5 separate regions of the Homo sapiens genome follow, and regions 1, 2, 3 and 5 are each linked to region 4. Evidence: promoter capture Hi-C in human tissues and cell types (Jung and others, 2019). All regions are on one chromosome and are shown on one strand. Each heading gives the region's core, a stretch centred on a gene start or on the middle of the fragment in contact. The rest is flanking DNA. Distances are from core to core; before and after follow the strand shown.

Evidence for each region. Contacts are between HindIII fragments. The study calls those that stand out against the background at their distance.
Region 1: a contact is called between a fragment that was not itself captured here and the fragment with the promoter of PLAT in region 4, in 3 of the 25 tissues and cell types used here (H1 embryonic stem cells, bladder and heart right ventricle).
Region 2: a contact is called between a fragment that was not itself captured here and the fragment with the promoter of PLAT in region 4, in 11 of the 25 tissues and cell types used here (H1 embryonic stem cells, IMR-90 fibroblasts, dorsolateral prefrontal cortex and 8 more).
Region 3: a fragment that was not itself captured here is called in contact with the fragment with the promoter of PLAT in region 4 in 1 of the 25 tissues and cell types used here (lymphoblastoid cells).
Region 5: a contact is called between the fragment with the promoter of POLB here and the fragment with the promoter of PLAT in region 4, in 14 of the 25 tissues and cell types used here (H1 embryonic stem cells, IMR-90 fibroblasts, adrenal gland and 11 more).

What each region holds. Positions count from the first base shown.
Region 1 is chr8:42,061,621-42,065,726 of GRCh38, forward strand. The region is part of intron 1 of KAT6A-AS1 (KAT6A antisense RNA 1); the gene reads left to right. Among named protein-coding and RNA genes, the nearest start is that of KAT6A, 12 kb to the left of the region's middle. The HindIII fragment of the contact is 4,701 bases long and covers 163-4,106 here.
Region 2 is chr8:42,367,363-42,371,126 of GRCh38, forward strand. POLB (DNA polymerase beta) reads left to right here. Exons shown (of 14, transcript NM_002690.3): 12 at 1,909-1,973; 13 at 2,487-2,626. Among named protein-coding and RNA genes, the nearest start is that of DKK4, 8.0 kb to the right of the region's middle. The HindIII fragment of the contact is 3,911 bases long and covers 451-3,764 here.
Region 3 is chr8:42,397,313-42,401,415 of GRCh38, forward strand. VDAC3 (voltage dependent anion channel 3) reads left to right here. Exons shown (of 10, transcript NM_005662.7): 5 at 1,400-1,552; 6 at 2,339-2,391. Among named protein-coding and RNA genes, the nearest start is that of VDAC3, 7.5 kb to the left of the region's middle. RefSeq lists a silencer at 3,869-4,088. The HindIII fragment of the contact is 4,382 bases long and covers 585-4,103 here.
Region 4 is chr8:42,205,965-42,209,551 of GRCh38, forward strand. PLAT (plasminogen activator, tissue type) reads right to left here and starts at 1,601. Exons shown (of 14, transcript NM_000930.5): 1 at 1,530-1,601. RefSeq lists enhancers at 2,102-2,620, 2,621-3,139. The HindIII fragment of the contact is 37,434 bases long and covers 1-3,587 here.
Region 5 is chr8:42,337,020-42,340,991 of GRCh38, forward strand. POLB (DNA polymerase beta) reads left to right here and starts at 1,475. Exons shown (of 14, transcript NM_002690.3): 1 at 1,475-1,666; 2 at 1,993-2,050. The coding sequence starts at 1,606. The HindIII fragment of the contact is 25,945 bases long and covers 1-3,972 here.

The sequences.
Region 1 (4,106 bases), core at 1,263-3,762, 140 kb before region 4:
AAAAACCTGCAATTAACATGGTACTTAATGATGAAAGACAAATACTTTCCCTCTAAGACATGATCATAGCAAAGATATCTGTTGTCACCACTTCTCTAGTCAACATGGTACTATAGTTTCTAGGCAGAACAGTAAGGAAAGAAAATAAAAAGGCATCCAAATTGGAAAGAAAGAAAGCTATCTTTGTTCACAGATGACATGATCGAATATCTAAAATATCCTACAAACAACTGCTAGAATTAATAGGTTTATCAAGGTTGCAGGATATAAGATCAATATACGGCCAGGCATCGTGGCTCATGCCTGTAATCCCAGCACTTTGGGAGCCGGAGGCGGGCGGATCACGAGGTCAGGAGATCGAGACCATCCTGGCCAACATGATGAAACCCCGTCTCTACTAAGAGAAAAAACTAGTTGGGCGTGGTGGTGCACACCTGTAGTCCCAGCTACTTGGGAGTCTGAGGCTGGGGAATCGCTTGAACCCAGGAGGTGGAGATTGCAGTGTGCCGAGGTCACACCACTGCACTCCAGCCTCCAGCCTGGCAACAGAGTGAGACTCCGTCTCAAAACAAACAAACAAACAAACAAAAAACAAGAAGTGGGCTGGACGCGGTGGCTCACGCCTGTAATCCCAGCACTTTGGGAGGCCGAGGCGGGTGGATCATGAGGTCAGGAGATCGAGACCATCCTGGCTAACACGGTGAAACCCCATCTCTACTAAAGATACAAAAAAATTAGCCAGGAGTGGTGGTGGGCGCCTGTGGTCCCAGCTGCTCGGGAGGCTGAGGCAGGAGAATGGCATGAACCCGGGCAGCGGAGCTTGTAGTGAGCCGAGATCATGCCACTGCACTCCAGCTTGGGTGACAGAGCAAGACTCTGTCTCAAAAAAAAAAAAAACAAGAAGTGTTGGTAAGCATGTGGAAAAATTGGAGTCCTTGTGTAGTGTTGTTAAGAATATAAAATGGTGCAGCCACTGTGGAAAACAGTATAAAGCTTCCTCAAAAGTGAAAAATAGAATTACCATAAGATCTAGCAATCTCACTTCTGGATATATATACAAAAGAATTGAAAACAGGCCAGGCGCGGTGGCTCACACCTATAATCCCAGACTTTGGGAGGCCAAAGCGGGCGGATCACCTGAGGTCAGGAGTTGGAGACCAGCCTGGCCAACATGGCGAAACCCTGTCTCTACTAAAAATGCAAAAATTAGCTGGGCGTGGTGGCGCAAGCCTGTAATGCCAGCTACTTGGGAGCCTGAGGCAGGAGAATTTCTTGAACCTGGAGGGCAGAGGTTACAGTGAGCCGAGATTGCACCACTACACTCCAGCCTGGGCAACAAAGAGTGAGACTCCGTCTCAAAAAAAAAAAAATTGAAAACAGAATCTTGAAGAGATGTTTGTATACCCATGTTCAGAGTAGCAGTATTCACAGTAGCCAAGAAGTGGCAGCAACTCAAATGTTCATCAACAGATGAATGGATAAACAAAATGTGGTATATACATACAGTGGAATATTATTTGGCCTTAAAAAGGGAAGGAAATTCTGACATACGCTACAACATTGATGAAACTTGAGGACATTGTGTCAAGCGAAATAGGCCAGTCACAAAAATATAAATATTGTATGATTTCCCTTACATAAAGTAGTCAAATTTACAGAAACGGAAAGTTGTATAGTAGTTGCCAGGTCCTGGAGGAAAAGAAAAATGAGGAGTTATTATTGAATAGGTACAGATATTTGGTTTTACAAGATGAAAAGAGTTCTGGAGATGAATAGTGGTGATGGTTGTACAATATCAATGTATTTTTAACACCCATCAAGTGAACACCTAGAAATTGTTAAGATGGTAAATTTTATGTTTTGTGTATTTTACCAGAATTTTTTTAAAAAAATAAAGTGTATTTCTGTATACTAACAACAAACAATTGGCGATTAAAAAAAAACTAGCTTTGTACAGTTGCTTAAAAGTATGAAAGCTTTGGGGATAAATCTGACAAAATAAGTGCGAGATCTGTTCATTGAATGCTGCAAAATATTGCCAAGAGCTAAGAACTAAGAAAATGGGGCCGGGCGTAGTGGCTCACGCCTGTAATCCCAGCACTTTGGGAGGCCGAGGCGGGTGGATCACCTGAGGTCAGGAGTTCAACCAGCATAGTGAAACCCTGTCTCTACTAAAAATACAAAAAAAAAAAAATTAGCTGGACCTGGTGGCGGGCACCTGTAATCCCAGCTACTCGGGAGGCTGAGGCAGGAGAATCACTTGAACCTGGGAGGCAGAGGTTGCAGTGAGCAGAGATCACCCCACTGCACTCCAGCCTGGGCAACAAAAGCAAAACTTTGTCTCAAAAAAAAAAAAAAAGAACTAAGAAAATGGAAAGATACACCTTGTTTTGTGGTTGGAAACCTCAATGGTGTTAAGATATCAATTATTCCCAAATTCAGCTATGGATTCAATTGTAATCATAATCCCAGCAGGCTTTGTTTATAGAAACTGACAAGCAGGCCGGGCGTTGTGGCTCACGCCTGTAATCCCAGCACTTTGGGAGACCAAGGCAGGCAGAATACCTGCAGTCAGGAGTTCGAGATCAGCCTGGCCAACATGGTGAAACCTTGTCTCTACTAAAAATACAAAAGTTAGCTGGGCGTGGTGGTGCACGCCTGTTATCCCAGCTACTGGGGAGGCTGAGGCAGGAGAATCGCCTGAACCCAGAAGGCAGATGTTGCAGTGAACTGAGATCATGCCACTGTACTCCAGCCTGGGTGACAAGAGTGAAACTCCATCTCAAAAAAAAAAAAAAGGAAAAGAAACTGACAAGCAAATTCTAAAGTCTTATGAAATACAAAGTACAGGATTGTCATAAACTTTGAAAAAGGACAAAGTTTGCTGGATTTATACTACATGATTTTAAGGATTCTTATGTTTTCTCATGCAAGGTTTATTAGTGAATAGCACTAATACCTACCATACTATGACATAGGATTGTTGTGAGAATTTTTAAAGTTACTACATATAGTTGTGGCACTAAACCAATCTAAGTTATATAGAGACCACAATGTAAGTGTTAACTCTTATTAGAGTTGTTATTATTTGTAGTATTTTAATTTGCATTTCCTTGATTACTAGTGAGATTGACCTTTGTTTATTGGCCATTTGAGTTTTCTTTTCTGGGAAGCTCTTCTTCAAGTCTTTTGTCTATTTTTCTATTGGATTGCTTATATTTTTCATAGTTCTTCATATATTCAAGGTACTGATACATGTCAGTTCATGTATGTTGCATATTATGTCCCCTAGTTTTAAGCTTTTCCTTTCAGTCTTTTTAAGCGTGTCTTTTGTCGAGTGGAAGCTCCTATTATTCGTTTACATAAAGGTATCCTTTCCCTTTTTTGTCATTTGTGCGATGATAATTGGTACCCTTATCTTGCTTCTAATCTTAGAAGGAATGCTTTCAAATTAAGGGTGATGTTTGCTATAGGTATTTTGAGGATCCTCTTTATGAGGATGAAGAACTTCCCTTCTATTTCCACATTGCTAAGAGTTGTTTTGTTTTTTGTTTTGAGACAGAGTCTTGCTCTGTCACCCAGGCTGGAATGCAGTGGCACAATCTTGGCTCACTGCAACCTCCTGGGTTCAAGCGATTCTCCTGCCTCAGGCTCCCTAGTAGTTGGGATTACAGGCACGCCTCACCACACCTGGCTAATTTTTGTATTTTTGGTAGAGACAGGGTTTCACCATGTTGGCTGGTCTTGAACTCTTGACCTCAGGTGATCCTCCCGCCTTGGCCCCTCAAAGTTCTGGGATTATAGGCATGAGCCACCACGCCCGGCCTCTTGCTTGGTTTTGTATCAAAGTTATGCTTGCTTCATGAAATGAGAAAGGAGCGTTCCTTCTTTTTCTATACTCTAGAACGTTTTATAGAACATAATTATTTTTTCTTTAAACATTTGGGAAAATTCATCAATAAAAGCATCCAGATGTAGTATTTTCTTCATAGAAAAATGTTTGCATCCTGATTCAGTTTCTTAATGGTCATAAGATTATTACGGTTTTCTATCTTCTGTAACCAGTTTTGATAACATATTTTTCTAAGAATGTATCCATTTCATTT
Region 2 (3,764 bases), core at 1,156-3,655, 160 kb after region 4:
AGCCTCATTGAGAACATGAGACTTAGGGAATGACATAGGGAGTTAGCTAAGCCGGTATCTGAGGGAAGAGATAGCCAGGCAGGAGTCCGAGCACCAAGCCTATGGGAATGAGCATGAGCAAGATATCTAATGAAGATGAGAGCTCTAGGCTTCTAAAAGGAAATTGGCTGCAAAATGAATTCAACTTAGGTAGTGAAATAAACCATTCTCATTCCATATCCCCTTTTTTTGCAAAACCTCTTCTTGCTATCACCACTTACTAGTCTTAAAGGTATGCCTCTTCATGTGTTTTTCAAGTTATATTCAAGACACAAATTCCTTTAAGCTAATAGTAATCAAACCTTAGGAAAGCCATGGTTATTCCAGATCATCTTGTGCAATCATAGTCTTTAGATAATTGAGCTATACTATATTCCTGTGAATATAGTAACACTCAGAAGAAAAAAAGTTTCCTCTGCATTCAACTATTGGTTTTATATACGGTGAGTGCCATTCAGATTTCAGTATTTTGTGCAAGTTTGGCCTTGGGTGATTTTCTGTGAAATATCTGCAGTAAGAATTCAAGGGACAATAGGAGATACCATGGCTACCCCGAGGAAATGAAAGAGGTTTTATTTCCGACACTCAGTATGAAGCTACCCAAATGAAATGCCAAACAAAGCTAATCCACTCAATCTAATACAGAATTTACAGTAAAACAGAGAAATTCTTTAATATTAGCACTTCAGAAAAAGTGCAGGAAATAAAATTAGCCTTGAGGAAAGGAACAAAGCCATGAGATAAAATCCTATTACTGATGTGACAAACAGGAACATCATTCCCTGTGGTATCTAGACATCCGCATCCGCAAGGTAATACCTCCTGGTAATTCCAGGTGGAAATGACTTCTGATCCACTTGAAGGTGGAAGTTGAGTTGGAACTTGTTAGTGCCTAAGAAGGTAGGTTTCATATTTTGAAGGTAAACATATTTCATTAATCTTTCTTCCATAGGAACAGCTAAAGAATTAGTTTAGATTTTAATTTTTCTATTTTGCTGAGTGAAAAAGTATGGCTTTTAGTGGCATGTGTTAACTTGACCACTCTTGAGGACCAGAAGCTTGTCACTTGTGTATTTTTCTTAGAATGTAGCATTTGATACTTTTAATTGGAAATTTGGTGGTGCTTATATCTTGTTTTACATATGTATGGGTTGCTGACCAGTCCAGATTTTTTGTCCATTTTTCAGGAAAGGGAAAAGATAAAACAGACTTGGATAACTTTTGTTTGGAAATTGTAGAAGTATAATGAAAAATTACCTGTGAAGGAAGAAAGTGATCCCCTCATTTTCTGATCTCATATTTTTCTTATTTTCCGTGTCTTTCTCCCTTCTAGTGTCTGAGAGATTTCTTCAATTTCAAACTCTTTTACTTCTGCTACCTATCATTTTAAATTTTGATTTAAACCTTTCCCTGAGGGTTTTCTATAGTATTCTGTTCTTACTTCATGGATAGAGTATCTTCTGTTATTACTGGAAGCTTTTTTGTTTGAGACTATACTGGTAGCTTTTTTGTTTGTTTTCTTCTTCCTGCATAATCATCGTTTCTTCCACGTTGCTCTCTTCTGTTTATTTTGATGTCTGTGTTTCGTGTTCAGGGTTTTCTTTGATTAGTTTCTTGCTTAGAATCACACAAAGACCAAATCCTCATAATGAGAATCCTTATTTGCAGTTTTGTGTAGTTCTCTAATTATCGTGAAGTGTAATAGAAAGGTAGGGATAGTGTATTGCTCACAGAAGCTGCTAAGTTAAAAGTGCTCAGAATTCTAGAGCTGCTAACATTAAAAACAAAAATGGCCTTGTGTTTTACTTGATTAAAATTAAGCCTTAAGTTTAGAACATCTTTAAACTTGGTTTAAAATGTTCATTTTAGGGTGTTTGCCAGCTTCCCAGTAAAAATGATGAAAAAGAATATCCACACAGAAGAATTGATATCAGGTATTGTTCAGACTTTGTTGCTGACCTGTTAACTTTTCCAAACTTGTCTCGTTTTCTCCCTCCCTGTTTGTATCTTGGAGTTCACATTCATATCTAGAGCCTTTTTTTACTCCCAAGAGCCATATGTTCTTGCCAAATGCAATGTTTAGCTCCAAAGTATGTAAAGAATAATGACTGTCTACAGACTCCAATTTATTTTCTCTAGATTTGCACCTCACCATGATGCCTTCCACAGCTCAAAAGTCATTTCCTGCCTGGGCTAAGTTAGTTGTAATAGGTGATAATGCAATTTCATTTCTCCACATCTCTTTCAGAACAAAGTTCACAGAAACCTAAACAAATTACAAGGTTGGGGTGATTTGAGCAGTCTACCTCATGATAGTCTTCTCTTCAAATTATTAGACCACTTAGGCTTATCTTTGGTATTTTGTTCCTTATTGATTTTAGGAGTCCTATATTTGCTAAACTTGAAATGCATGGTAAAAAAATGTATCTACTGTCCATTTTTTTTAGGTTGATACCCAAAGATCAGTATTACTGTGGTGTTCTCTATTTCACTGGGAGTGATATTTTCAATAAGAATATGAGGGCTCATGCCCTAGAAAAGGGTTTCACAATCAATGAGTACACCATCCGTCCCTTGGGAGTCACTGGTGAGTGTCCATGTGTGTATTAGAGATCATCTCTCATCTGGAGAGAAGGTTATTTTCAAAGATACTTTGGTTTAGCAAACCTTCTAATAACTATGCCAGTTAGTGTAGTTTCTTTGTATTTTTAGTCCTTCAGGCAACGAGAGAGGATTTAATGCATAACATGCTCCTAGGCCCTCAGTTGAAGGCCATCAAGGCAAGCGTTAGTTCCAGCTTTGTTAAAATGGATTAAATCCTTGCATGCTCAGTAAAATATCTTATTCATCTAAAAGGGTTTTTTTTTTTTTTTTTTTTTTTTTGCTGTTGTTTAATGTACCTCTAGGACCCCTGAAAAACTCAAGTATCATTGTTTTCAGTGCCACATACTTTGCTTTTAGTGCCATGGTATCTTTGGCCCCATGCTTTTAAAGTTTAAAGAATAAGGATTGCTGAATCTATGCTTAATGGGTTCTGTTAACATTTCACAGTATACTATGTGGTTTACTGTTCTCTACTAGGAGAATGAATTTTTGTCATTTTGTCCTCAAAGTATAAAATACTTTGTCCTCAAAGTATAAAATACCTCATCCCTGGTAGACTAGGGCAGTGCTTCTCACAATTCAGTGTGCATACCAGCAACATGGGGGCCTCACTAAATTCAGATTCTAATTCCTTTGGCTTGCAGTGGGGCTCAGGATTCTGCATTTCTAGTAAGCTTCTAGATCAGAGGTTACCAATCTTTTAGCTTCCCTGGGTCACATTGGAAGAAGAATAATTGTCTTGGGCTACACATAAAATACACTAACACTCACGATAGCTGATGAGCTTTAAAGAAAAAAATCATAAAAACATCTCATCGTGTTTTAAGACAGTTTACGAATTTGTGTTGGGCCACATTCAAAGTGGAGCTGGGCCGCATGCAGCTGGCGGGCCATGGTTGGATAAGCTTGTTCTAGATAATGCCAGTGCTGCTAGTCCAAGAACCGAGTTGCAAAGGAACTCACTAGAGTATATAATACATAGTGGCTCCAGCAGAAAGGACAATCATGAGTGAGGATGACTTGAGTGGCCCTAGCTGGGATCCCCAGGTTCCCTTTGTGGCACTGATGACTCACGAGATGAAGCTCCAGCACAGCCTCCTGGGAGAGGATAGAGGTAGTCA
Region 3 (4,103 bases), core at 1,526-4,025, 190 kb after region 4:
ATACTCTCTTTGAAACCATTCTGTGTGGTTTGATAAACAGAACATAACTTCCCAGTTGTCTCATCTGCCTGTAGAACTAGAGTTAGGGGACAGGGCATTTGTTAAGGAGAGGATTCATGTTGCAGGCAGTGAAAAAGACTGGTCAGGGTTGGCAGCATCTCATTACTGTTGGCAGGATTTCAGAAATGCTCCCTAAAACAGGACCAATCAGAATGTTTTTTCTTGACAGTTCATAGATTGTCAGTGACAGGTGCTGTCTGCTTTCCCCAGAAGGAGGTCCATTTCTAATTGCTTATTGTCATATGACTTAAAGGGCACTGAACTAGGGCAAAGGATGTATTTTATTTTATTTTATTTTTTTGAGACAGAGTCTCATTCATAGTAACTGTTTGATAGAAAGCACTCTTAAAGGTAGACAGGATAGAAAGGGGGAAAGAAGGATAAATTATAGCATTCTACTTTATTTTGAAAAATGGGTAGTACTTTCAAATATTGAAATTGTCTAAGCAGAAGTTTTGCAGTTTTGCACACAAAAGCATTAAAGTTTTCACAGCAGTGTGACTGTACTTAATGCCACTTCACTGTACACTTAAAACATTATTAAAATGGTAAAATGTATGTTACATGTATTTACCACAATAAAAAAAAACATTTTTAAAAGGAAGTAGTAAAGTGTTGACCCTATTAAAAAGGAGGAGGGCAGTATTTTGGGATTTTTAAGGACCTTGAAATTAACTGATAGTTTGAAACATATAGCAGAGAACTGATAATCTTTTTTTAGGTCATGAAAGTAAAATGTTTAAGATACAATATTTTTGGTCTTTTTAGTAAAGGCATTTGTTTTCAGTAAAGATACTTCTTTTTTAAAGGAGAGAATTTAGGATTACCATTTGGTAAGAGAGTATATGGAACAAGAGATATTAATAAGAGAAGTAGAGTAATGGAAAGATCTGAAACTGGTATTGAGCTGTCTCACTCCGTTGCCCAGGCTAGGGTGAAGTGGCATGATCTCGGCTCACTGCAACCTCTGCCTCCTGGGCTCAGGCTGGGACTACAGTCACGTGCCATCATGCCTGGCTAATTTTTTGTATTTTTTGTAGAGATGGGGTTTTGCCATGTTGCGCAGGCTGGTCTTGAGCTCCTGGACTCAAGGGATCCACCCGCCTTGGCCTCGTAACATGCTGGGATTACAGGCATGAGCCACTGCGCCTGGCAGAACTGGTTAAAATATTTAGGGACTGGAAAAGCAAGGGGAAAGGAGGAAAGAAGTTGCTCTAGAGTAGGGCTGTGGCAAGCAGTAAATGGTATTGTTTTTGATACATTGAACACTGCTTTCCAAAGTGAATATTTTCTATTTGATGAGCTAATTTTAAAGTAATTATTTTTTCTTGCTTACCAGGAATTTTCTACTTCTGGTCATGCTTACACTGATACAGGGAAAGCATCAGGCAACCTAGAAACCAAATATAAGGTCTGTAACTATGGACTTACCTTCACCCAGAAATGGAACACAGACAATACTCTAGGGACAGAAATCTCTTGGGAGAATAAGGTAAGAGAACGCATTAGAAGTTATTCATAGGTTCAATTTATCTTGTAGATTGAATGATGAACATACCCCAAATATAATCAAAAGAGATCTTACAACCTATCTAGTAGCCATATTTTTTCTCTGCATGTGGCCTTTTTTGATGTCTTATGTTTCTAGAAAATAAGGCTTTGTTTGTGAGTACTCTAATTACTATATTACATCTTTGTTCTGACTGGTTCTCTGTTACACAGCTAAGCTTCTCCTGGGTAGAACAAACTATTTGCGGAAATTTGGTTTAGTTTTGTAATTGTTGAAAAATTGGCTTGACAGAAAAATTTTTCTAAAATGTTCTCATGTTTTCAAGGAGAAAATCTATTAGATATAGTCAAGTGCCCACTATGTACAGGGCACTGTTTTTGATAGAGATACCATGTATAGATAATGTACATGCAAAACTGAGTAAAATGACTTAGCCTGCTTGTTAAATGTCAGGTTATCTCATTACTGCTCTTTCAAGAGAGTATCAAGATGATTTTGTTGTATGGGAATTCTGTTTGGTTTTGAACTGTATTTTATGTAACTTGCTAAAATAGGATTTGCCCCATTTTTTAGTGGGAGAACCATGATGAAGGCTGGGGTGAGGGGACAGGAGGATGGAGAGCTTACTTATTACATAATTTAATATTTTGCTTTCTTGAATGACTCCTTTTTTTTGTTAAAGAACTCAGGAAACTTTAGAATTGGTTTCTTGAGTTGGATAAATGATTGAAAATTACTAATTATTTATTTTAAATCTTTGTTTTTCAGTTGGCTGAAGGGTTGAAACTGACTCTTGATACCATATTTGTACCGAACACAGGGTAATTATTCAAATCCCATTTCCTGAAACGTTTTTGGAGCCTGAAAGGGTAGAGAGCTTTAGAATAAGGAGATATAGTGCAAAGTTCAGAGGCAGGAAGAACTCAGAAGGTTGCTATAAGGAATATTGGAGACCTTGTATAGGTAATACAGATAAAGGAAGATCCCTCCCCACCAAGGCAGGATGAACAATTTGAAAACTGAATAGATGAGCAAAAATGTATAAATGTATTTGAGAGAGACACATGGTAGAAAAAATTTAGGAGCTAGAAGAGTCTTGAGACCATAGATGAATCTTAAGCAATTCTGAAGATTGATGGACATGGTATTCTGCTGAGAAAGTTAATTCCTTTTGGCTGGGCGTGGTGGCTCACGCCTGTAATCCTAGCACTTTGGGAGGCCGAGATGGGCGGATCATGAGGTCCGGAGATGGAAACCATCCTGGCTAACACGGTGAAACCCCATCTCTACTAAAAAATACAAAAAATTAGCCAGGCATGGTGGTGGGCGCCTGTAGTCCCAGCTACTCAGGAGGCTGAGGCAGGAGAATGGCATGAACCCAGGAGGCGGAGCTTGCAGTGAGCCGAGATGCACTCCAGCCTGGGCAACAGAGCGAGACTCTGTCTCAAAAAAAAAAAAAAAAGTTAATTCCTTTTTTTTCCCCCTCACCCTCTCTTATGGTGCTGAAAAGTTAATTTCTTAAGAAGGTGATCTGGCTCTCAGATGCTATAATGATTAGTTCTGCTGCCTACTTGATTTCTTAGCCTCTGTAAATCCCCCAACTTCTTGACCTCAATTTCCTCGTGAAAAAAAGGGGGATTGTGTCATTTCCTATCTGCCTAATGTGGGTCCATGCTATCTGAAGGACGGAGGTTGCTAGATGAATGCAAAGTGACATTTGTCTCAGCCGTAACAACAGGTGTGTTCTTTTTGCCACACACTTCAGTTATCTTTAGGACAAATATTCTTTTCTTTTTTTTTTTTTTTTTTTTTTTTGAGATGGAGTCTTGCTGGAGTATAGTGGCACTATCTCAGCTCACTGCAAACTCTGCCTCCTGGGTTCAAGCAATTCTCCTGCCTCAGCCTCCCAAATAGCTGGGACTACAGGCATGCACCACCACGCCCAGCTAATTTTTGTATTTTTAGTAGAGACGGAGTTTTACCACGTTGGGCAGGATGGTCTCTGTCTTGACCTCGTGTTCCGCCTGGCTCGGCCTCCCAAAATGCTGGGCTTACAGGCATGAGCCACTGTGCCCGGCCAGGACAAATATTCCTACAAGAGGCTTGATTGGAATAGGGTTATTAAGAACTAATTTCATTTTTTCAGTATTGTCCTTCAAAAAAGCATGCTTCTCTCCATGATAGGTTAATAATGTATATTGGGGATTAATTCTTTGTGGCATTTGGCATTTGGAAACATTTAAAGAGATTTGGCTTCTTGTACGTCTGTATACATACACCTTCAGATTATTAATTTGGCACTGAAATATCTTATTCATTCTTTTTTTTTCTTTTGAGACGAGTCTCGCTCTGTCGCCAGGCTGGAGTACAGTGGCATGATCTTGGCTCACTGCAACCTCTGCCTCCCAGGTTCAAGTGATTCTCCTGCCTCAGCCTCCCAAGTAGCTGGGACTACAGGCGTGTGCCACCACGCCCAGCTAATTTTTGTATTTTTAGTAGAAACGGGGTTTCACCATGTTGGCCAGGATGGTCT
Region 4 (3,587 bases), core at 351-2,850:
GTCAGGCCCTGGGGGAAATCAAAGCCTCAGTGAACTCAAAAACCAACAAAGGGGAACTGCTATTCCCAGCTATTCCCTGGCTGCCTGGACTGTCCCAGGCCTGTGATGAAGCAGGGGGAGCCGCAGACACTGGGAGAATCCGACGCGAGTCATTGTGAAATAAACCAAGCTGGTCTTGGGGAGTCGGGCAGAGAAGGAGCATTTTGGAGACAAGGGCAGCTTTCATTTGCTCCTGAGATTTTGATCTGGGGCTTTATCATTTGATCCAGAGCTTGGAGGCTTGCATCTTTGAGAACATTTTAGGTGGAATAAATGGGTGGGCAGGATGGAGCTATTCATATCTCAATACTCACAGTGTCCCTGCCAGTGCTGGAGTCCGACTCTGCCTGCACAGGAAGCACGCACCCAGCAGCTCATGCTGACCGTCATGGATTGAGTCTAGATCCCAGAATGAGCGTTCTTGCCACAGCAAGTACTGCTAGGAAGTCACCTTTGAGGGGACTCCACCTGACAATGGTATTTGCAAGACCCCTTCCCGGGACTGCAATGCACACGCATACACACACACACGACATTTTTTCTGTCATCAAGCAGCTACAGGAGACCACCATATTATTCCCAATTGGCCACCAAACACATCCTTGTTACCACACTTCTTTGAGCTTGAGTTGTCATTAGTTACCTGGGACCTCGGCGTGTTTTCGTCTTCCCTCCCTCCCTTCCTCTCTCCCTCCCTGTGAGGTTAAGAAAATAAAGATAATAACAGTGAAAATCTGGAGAACCCCACATGCTTCCTGCAGAGTGCTTTAGGAATAAAAGACATTAATGTCAGTTTTTTCCCCTGTAATTAAAATGTCCTTTAAGGAGGACTGCACACTTGACTGATGCACCCTGGGCAAAAAGCCAGAGGGCCAAACTGACCTGTGGAGACTTGTAGGGGTGGCACCTAGGGAGATCAGAGGCATTTCTCTATCCCACGGGGTAATGTGGGGTGTGAAAGCCACCTGCTTCTCTCTCCCAGCACCTAGCAAATAGTGCTCTGGAAGTAAGTCCCCCTCTGCCCCATCCACAGCCTCAGTTCCTTTCTGGGGGTTCATCGGGGGAGGGAGGAAACTAGGGGACCCAGCGGGCCCTCCCAGCTGTCACAGGCACGTGTCCCAAGGCAGCCGATTTTGCTTTTATTGCTTGCTCGTCTTGAGGTACTCCCATAGGCTATTTGGGGCTTTTCTGTATCGTTCTTTTCACTTTCCCCTTTACTCTGTCAGCAGAGGCTTCTCCAATGAATGCAACCTCCCTAGTCTCCCTTTCCCCGACTGCCTCTCCCCTCCAAAACACTCCAGCCTATCCCAATCACATGCAAATGCAAACAGACATCTCCCCTCTGGAGTGGATTCTAGCGGATCCTCTAGTTGCCTGAATTACAAAGTTGGTCCCTTGGTTAAAGCATTCCTTCACTGGCTCAGCTTGCTGGAAAGACTTTTAAGAGAAAGAAGAGGAGACAGACCCCAAGGTACAGAAACCCGACCTACCACGGCTTGCTCCTTCCCTTTCCTCGCAGAGGTTTTCTCTCCAGCCCTGGACTCCTGTAGGATCTCAGCTCTGAGCTCCCCACAGCTCCGGCCTCCTTTAAGTTTCCAGGCAGGGGGTGGGGTCGGTGGCCCCGGCTGGGCGGGTTTCTGTGTGGCGGGAGGATGCTCAGTGGACAGGGCCATGAGGGAGCTGAGGCAGGCCTGTTTTTATAAAGCAGGGGGAGGAAGTTCACGGTGGAAGCAGCACAGCCCATCCTGGCTTCGGGCCAGGCTGATTATTCACAGCCGTGATGTCATTGAATCGCAGGAATTTGGAAGTGGGATGGGACCTTAAGAATCATCTTCCTTTAGAGTCCTAGTGTCCCAGGCTTAAAAGGGACTTTCAGGACCCTGTGATGACAAGAAGTGTTTATAATTCTAAAGGCAGCAGGTTGGGGCTGGGAGTGGGGTGTCTTCTGGAATCTGTGGCTGTAGCTCTGGCCTCTCAGGACATGAGAGGTTAAAAGGACTGGAGGATGCACAAGGATTGGAACACTTTGTGTGGTGGCGGGAGCTCAGGGGGGTAGCCACTGAGAAGGCAGGACCAGCCTTGGGCTCACCTGCGGTAGGAGGTGCCCCCATGGGGGTTTGCTCCGGTAGGCATCTTTGGCCCTGTTCTGTAATTTTAGGGAGAATCTTTCTCTTCTTTGTAAAGTGCAGGGCTGCAGTAGGTGGCCTCCGGGGACTTTCCGGCTCCAGCATCCCCTTGAGTGGGCCCAGGGAATATACACAGGGCCTTGGGGCCAACATGCCTGAAATTCGATCAAAGCCATCAGCCCTTAAGCCCACCGAAGCCTTTCAGTATTTGCTTGTAAAATGCCCCTGGAAATAGACAAGCCATTTCCCTTGCTGACACCTTTTCAGATGACTGAGAAATAAAAGCCCTGTCGTGTAGGGGAAAGTCTTAGGTTTAAATCCGGCTGTGCCAGTAACTGGGATATGACCTCAATCAAGATTTTCAACTATGCTGAGCTCTGGCTTTTGCATCTGCAGGTCACGTGAGGATCAGAGAGAAGCCACGCATGTCAGGGCCCTGGCACATCACAGGGCTCAGCAGGAGCATCTATCATCATTGGTTCATGTCTGGCTGAGACCAGACCTTGTAAAAATGAGAGAGAGGTGAAAGAAAGAACGCAGGGAGGGAAGAGAAGTTTGGCAGAGGAAATTGTGGGATGACCGACTATTCAGGAGAGGCCAGATTTCATACATTCTGATCCTAAATATACTCATATTTGTCAAACCATGAGTGCTGAGTTTGAAGTTGAAAGGCACCTAACTGCTTTTCACATTGCTTTCAAACTGTTTTTCACATTTTTATGAAGCTGCAGCCCTGCTGATGGTCATTGTAGAAAAGGGGCACTGGGGTGGGTTGCCTGCTGAGCACGGGAGGTAGACCTCCCATGAGCAGCAGCAGCTGTGGGCCTGTCTGGTGGGCATGGGGCTGCTTTCCTGCAATGTGGTCTAAGATGGTGAGGATGGAGGCTTTTTTGGGGGGTGGGGCATTGCCGTTCAGCAGGGAGTGCTGGTCATGAGGACTCTCATTTGAACTCTTGAGAGGATGGTTTTCCACTGAATGGTTGCACTTAAATCCTGGATCCTGAACCTCTATGGAAAACAATATGGAGATTTCCCAAACTAAAAATAGAACATCCATTTGACCCGGCAATCCCACTACTGAGTATCTATTCAAAGAAAAAGAAATCATTACATCAAAAAGACACCTGCACTCACACGTTTATCACACACAATTCACAACAGCACAATTCACAATAGCAAAGGCACAGAATTAACCTAAGTGTCCATCAATGGAGGACTGGATAAAGAAAATGCACATATACACCGAGGAATACGACAAAGCCGTAAAAAACAATGAAGTCTGTCTTTTGGAGCAACATGGATGAAACTGGAGACCATTATCCTAACTGAAATAACTCAGAAACAGAAAGTGAACAACCACATGCACTCACTTATAAATAGGGGCTAAACAACGGGAGACTGAGAGGAGAGGGTTTGCAGATC
Region 5 (3,972 bases), core at 225-2,724, 130 kb after region 4:
TTCAGAGGTAAATACATTTTTATTTAAGGAGGAATAATTCTTCAGAGCAAAATAATCTGAATATCACCTGGAATAGAGATTGGACAGAAAAAAGTGTGAACAGGGAAAACTAGGACAAGTCATATATGTAAATGAGAGTATAAAGAGTAAATGAGAGTGGTCACTGCTCACTGCAGCTTAACTAATCAGATAGTTAAGTTGCAGGCATAAAGTTTTTTTAACTTTTATTCCTCAAGTAATAAATTGAGGAAAATACAAATATGTACAAAATTTTTACAAAAGCTATCCATAAAAGGGCAAGTAGTAATATATAGAAAAGATCTACCAGATTAGTAACAAACTACCCCCATTAGGAAAATGGTAAATGATATGAATAGGAAATTCAAAAAAAGAAGAATTACAGATTTCCAATAAGCATAACTTAAGATATACACTGATATTGTAAGGAAACACAATCACCACAACCTTGCTAATCAAAGAAACTAATGATATTTATTGGAAAATAATGGGAATTTTTAATAGACTGGGTTAGAAGACTAGAAGTGTACGTCCCAAAATATTAATAGTTCAGCTGTAGGGTGAGATCACTGATTTTAATTTTCTCCTTTTATACATTTTTCCAGATTTCTCTACAGCAACTACGTATCATTTTGTAATAAATTTTAATTTTTCGATGCACAAAGCAATTGCCTGGAATTGCAGTTCGATATGAACCCAGGAGTTACGCTTGTAAAATAAACTATTGCTGATGTGACATTTCCATTTCTCAAGCAGACTGTAAATTTCTCAGATGTAGGTCATCATGTTATAATTAGGGTTCCATTGCTCATGATCTAGATGAAACACTTCTCCCTTTCTTGTGGTCTCTTCATTAATTTGGTCCCTACCGCAAAGGCAGGGGGATTAAAAATAAAATATCTTTTGACACTGGTTGGCAGGTGTACTAACACGTGTGCGGGAGGATTCCTGTTCTCGGCATGGTTCACGCCGGGCTCCGGCAGCGCCCTAGTACGTAAGGGGCTGCACTGGAGTGTGGACTGCCCGGTATCCTTAGAGAAAGTTTTGACAGTGTGACGCCAGTGTCGCCTCTAACCACGTACAAAACGCGCCATGCATTGGGTAGCTATTACAGTGCACATTTTTGTGCAGGAAGCTACCCCACCAGCGCAAGTATTTCAGAATCAAGATCGCACTCCCGTTTCCCCTTCTAGGGAAAGGATTCCAGATAAACACTGAGAAAACAGATTTAATATCTTAGGTCAAAACTCCAGGTCTTCCCATAGGAAGGCCCCTGGGCTGTCATTCTGAGGTGCCTATTTCCCCCGCGCCGTGTCCACGTCCACGAGTCCACGAACCCTCCGAGTTCTCTCTCCTCACCTGCCGAGGGCTCGCCCCTCTAGCCCCGCCCCGCCCCGCCCAGGACGCGTGACGTCACAACAAGCGCCGTGCGCCCCGCCCCCCATCGGGGGCAACCATTGTTCCGCCGGTCGCGCCGGAGCTGGGTTGCTCCTGCTCCCGTCTCCAAGTCCTGGTACCTCCTTCAAGCTGGGAGAGGGCTCTAGTCCCTGGTTCTGAACACTCTGGGGTTCTCGGGTGCAGGCCGCCATGAGCAAACGGAAGGCGCCGCAGGAGACTCTCAACGGGGGAATCACCGACATGCTCACAGGTTAGCACCGGGCCGGGCCCCGCTGGCTTTCTTCTTTCCTTCCAGCCTCTTCCCCTGCCTTCCTTCTCTCCCACACCGACAGTCCAGTGGGTAGGGTAGGTTCCTTGCAGCGGGTCGTCTTCCGTGGGGATCTCCCTCCGGCGCCCCTGGCTGGTTGTCAGTCCTGCCGGCTACACCTGGGCCATCGCTTGGGCTGCTTTTGGTCTGGCCCTTGGAGGAAACGGGTGGTCACTGTCTCTTAGAGGCTGCCATATCCCCTTCCAGAAAACAGTTCTCGTTTGTTTACTCGTGGTTCTTGTTCACCCGAGCCTTCTGTTGCCTTTCAGAACTCGCAAACTTTGAGAAGAACGTGAGCCAAGCTATCCACAAGTACAATGCTTACAGGTGGGACAGTGCAGCATTCTCGGGTAGCATACGTTCTGGGATACCCTGTTTAGTGTGGCAATTAACAGGACTGAGGGCCCAGTGGATATTTGGTCCATCTGCAAGAGCGGGAAAAAGCAAGAATCGAGGCTGGTACCTTACTATTTCTTGAAGAATGTGGGCAGTGCGTTATAGGATCAGTTCAGATAAGTTCCCAATTCTGATTGCAGATAGCTGTAGCCTGATACGTATTTTGTCATCATCAAACATGAATTACTAGAAATGCGGTGTAATTTTAACCGTAATGAAAGACAGCGGATGAAGTCCATACTGTGAAATATATGTGGTTCAAGGAATCACATTTTTTCTTTTGGTTGGTCTAAAGTTGATCCTGTGGGATCCTGATCCTGATCCTTGTTCCTTGTTCATGGGATCCTGTCCTTGTTCATCTCACCAGGGGCCTTATCCTATTCATTCTTTCCACATCCACCTGCTTCTACTCCTTAGCCTATATTTATTTATTTATTTATTTTTATTTGAGACGGGGTCTCGCTGTGGTATGATCATGGCTCATTGCAGCTTCAACCTTCCAGCCTCAAGTGATCTTCCCATCTCAGCCTCCTGAGTGGCTGGGACTACTACAGGCGCACGCCACCACACCCAGCTAATTTTTTTTTCTTTCTTTTTTTTTCTTTTTTTTTTTGTAGAGACCGGGTTTTGCTATGTTGCCCAGGCTGATCTCCAACTCCTAAACTCAAATGGTCCACACACCTTGGTCTCCCAGAGTGCTGGGATTCCAGGCATCAGCCTCGGTGTCAGCTCTCCTTAGCCTATAAATATGTGCAAGTCCCTCAGCTCTTAAAAGCAAAACCAAAACAATCTTAACTTCCCTCTAGCTAGCACCTTCCCTCTTTTCTCACTTTATGGTGAATCTTCTTGAAAAATCTTCATTCCTTGCCTGGACTTCTTAATACCTAATCATTTACTCAAGAAGTCCCAGTCCTTGCCTGGACCTACCAGTGCTCTGAAAATCCGCTCACCTACGTCTCATCTTATTGGACTCTCTGTGGCATTCACCCCTGGCTCATGCTGTGAATATCTCTTGACTTCTGTAATGGCACTCTTTCTGGTCTTTCATCTCTTCTTCTGTCTTACCTTTTAATGTTGGTATAGGTTGAGCATCCCTAATCTGAAAATTTGAAATGCTCTAAAATCTGGATGATTGCCGACATGATGACACAAGTGGAAAATTCCACATCCGATCTCATGTAGTAGGTGGCAGTCAAAATGGTCAAAACTTTGTTTCATGCACAAAATTATTAAAACGACTATATAAGATTACCTTCAGGGTATGTGCGTAAGGTGTGTGAGAAATATGACTGAATTTTGTATTTAGACTTGTATCTCCCATATCCCTAAGATATCTTATTATGTATACGCAAATATTCCAAACCCTGAAAAAAATTCAAAATCTGAAACAATGCTGGTCCCAGGCATTTCAGATAAGGGATAGTTAACCTGTGGTTCCGGGGAGTCTGCCTGCCCTTAGCCCTCTTTTCTTACTTCTGTAGTTTCCCTGGCAATCTTGCCATTCTTGACTTTGAAATGCCACTTATGTCAGTGACTCCAAATCTGTGTATCACTGGACTTTTTTCCACATTTTTAGCCCTATACTGTCTTTATCCCAAGTCAGCTCCCTTCTTCCATTCCCACTCCACACAGTTCAGAGCTGATTGTGCTCCCTCCTTTCCTTACTTCTGTGACTTCCTCTGTAAAGTAAAATAATTGTATTATCATCCATACATTTGATGATTCAAAATTACAGAGATATTCAACTTTGTATTCTATTTGGATCACAGCAGGTCTCAGAAAGGAGGTGTTTAGTTTGAAGAAGCTCATCGGGATAAGTGAGAGGGCCAGCAGTCTAGACAAATAAAATGTGC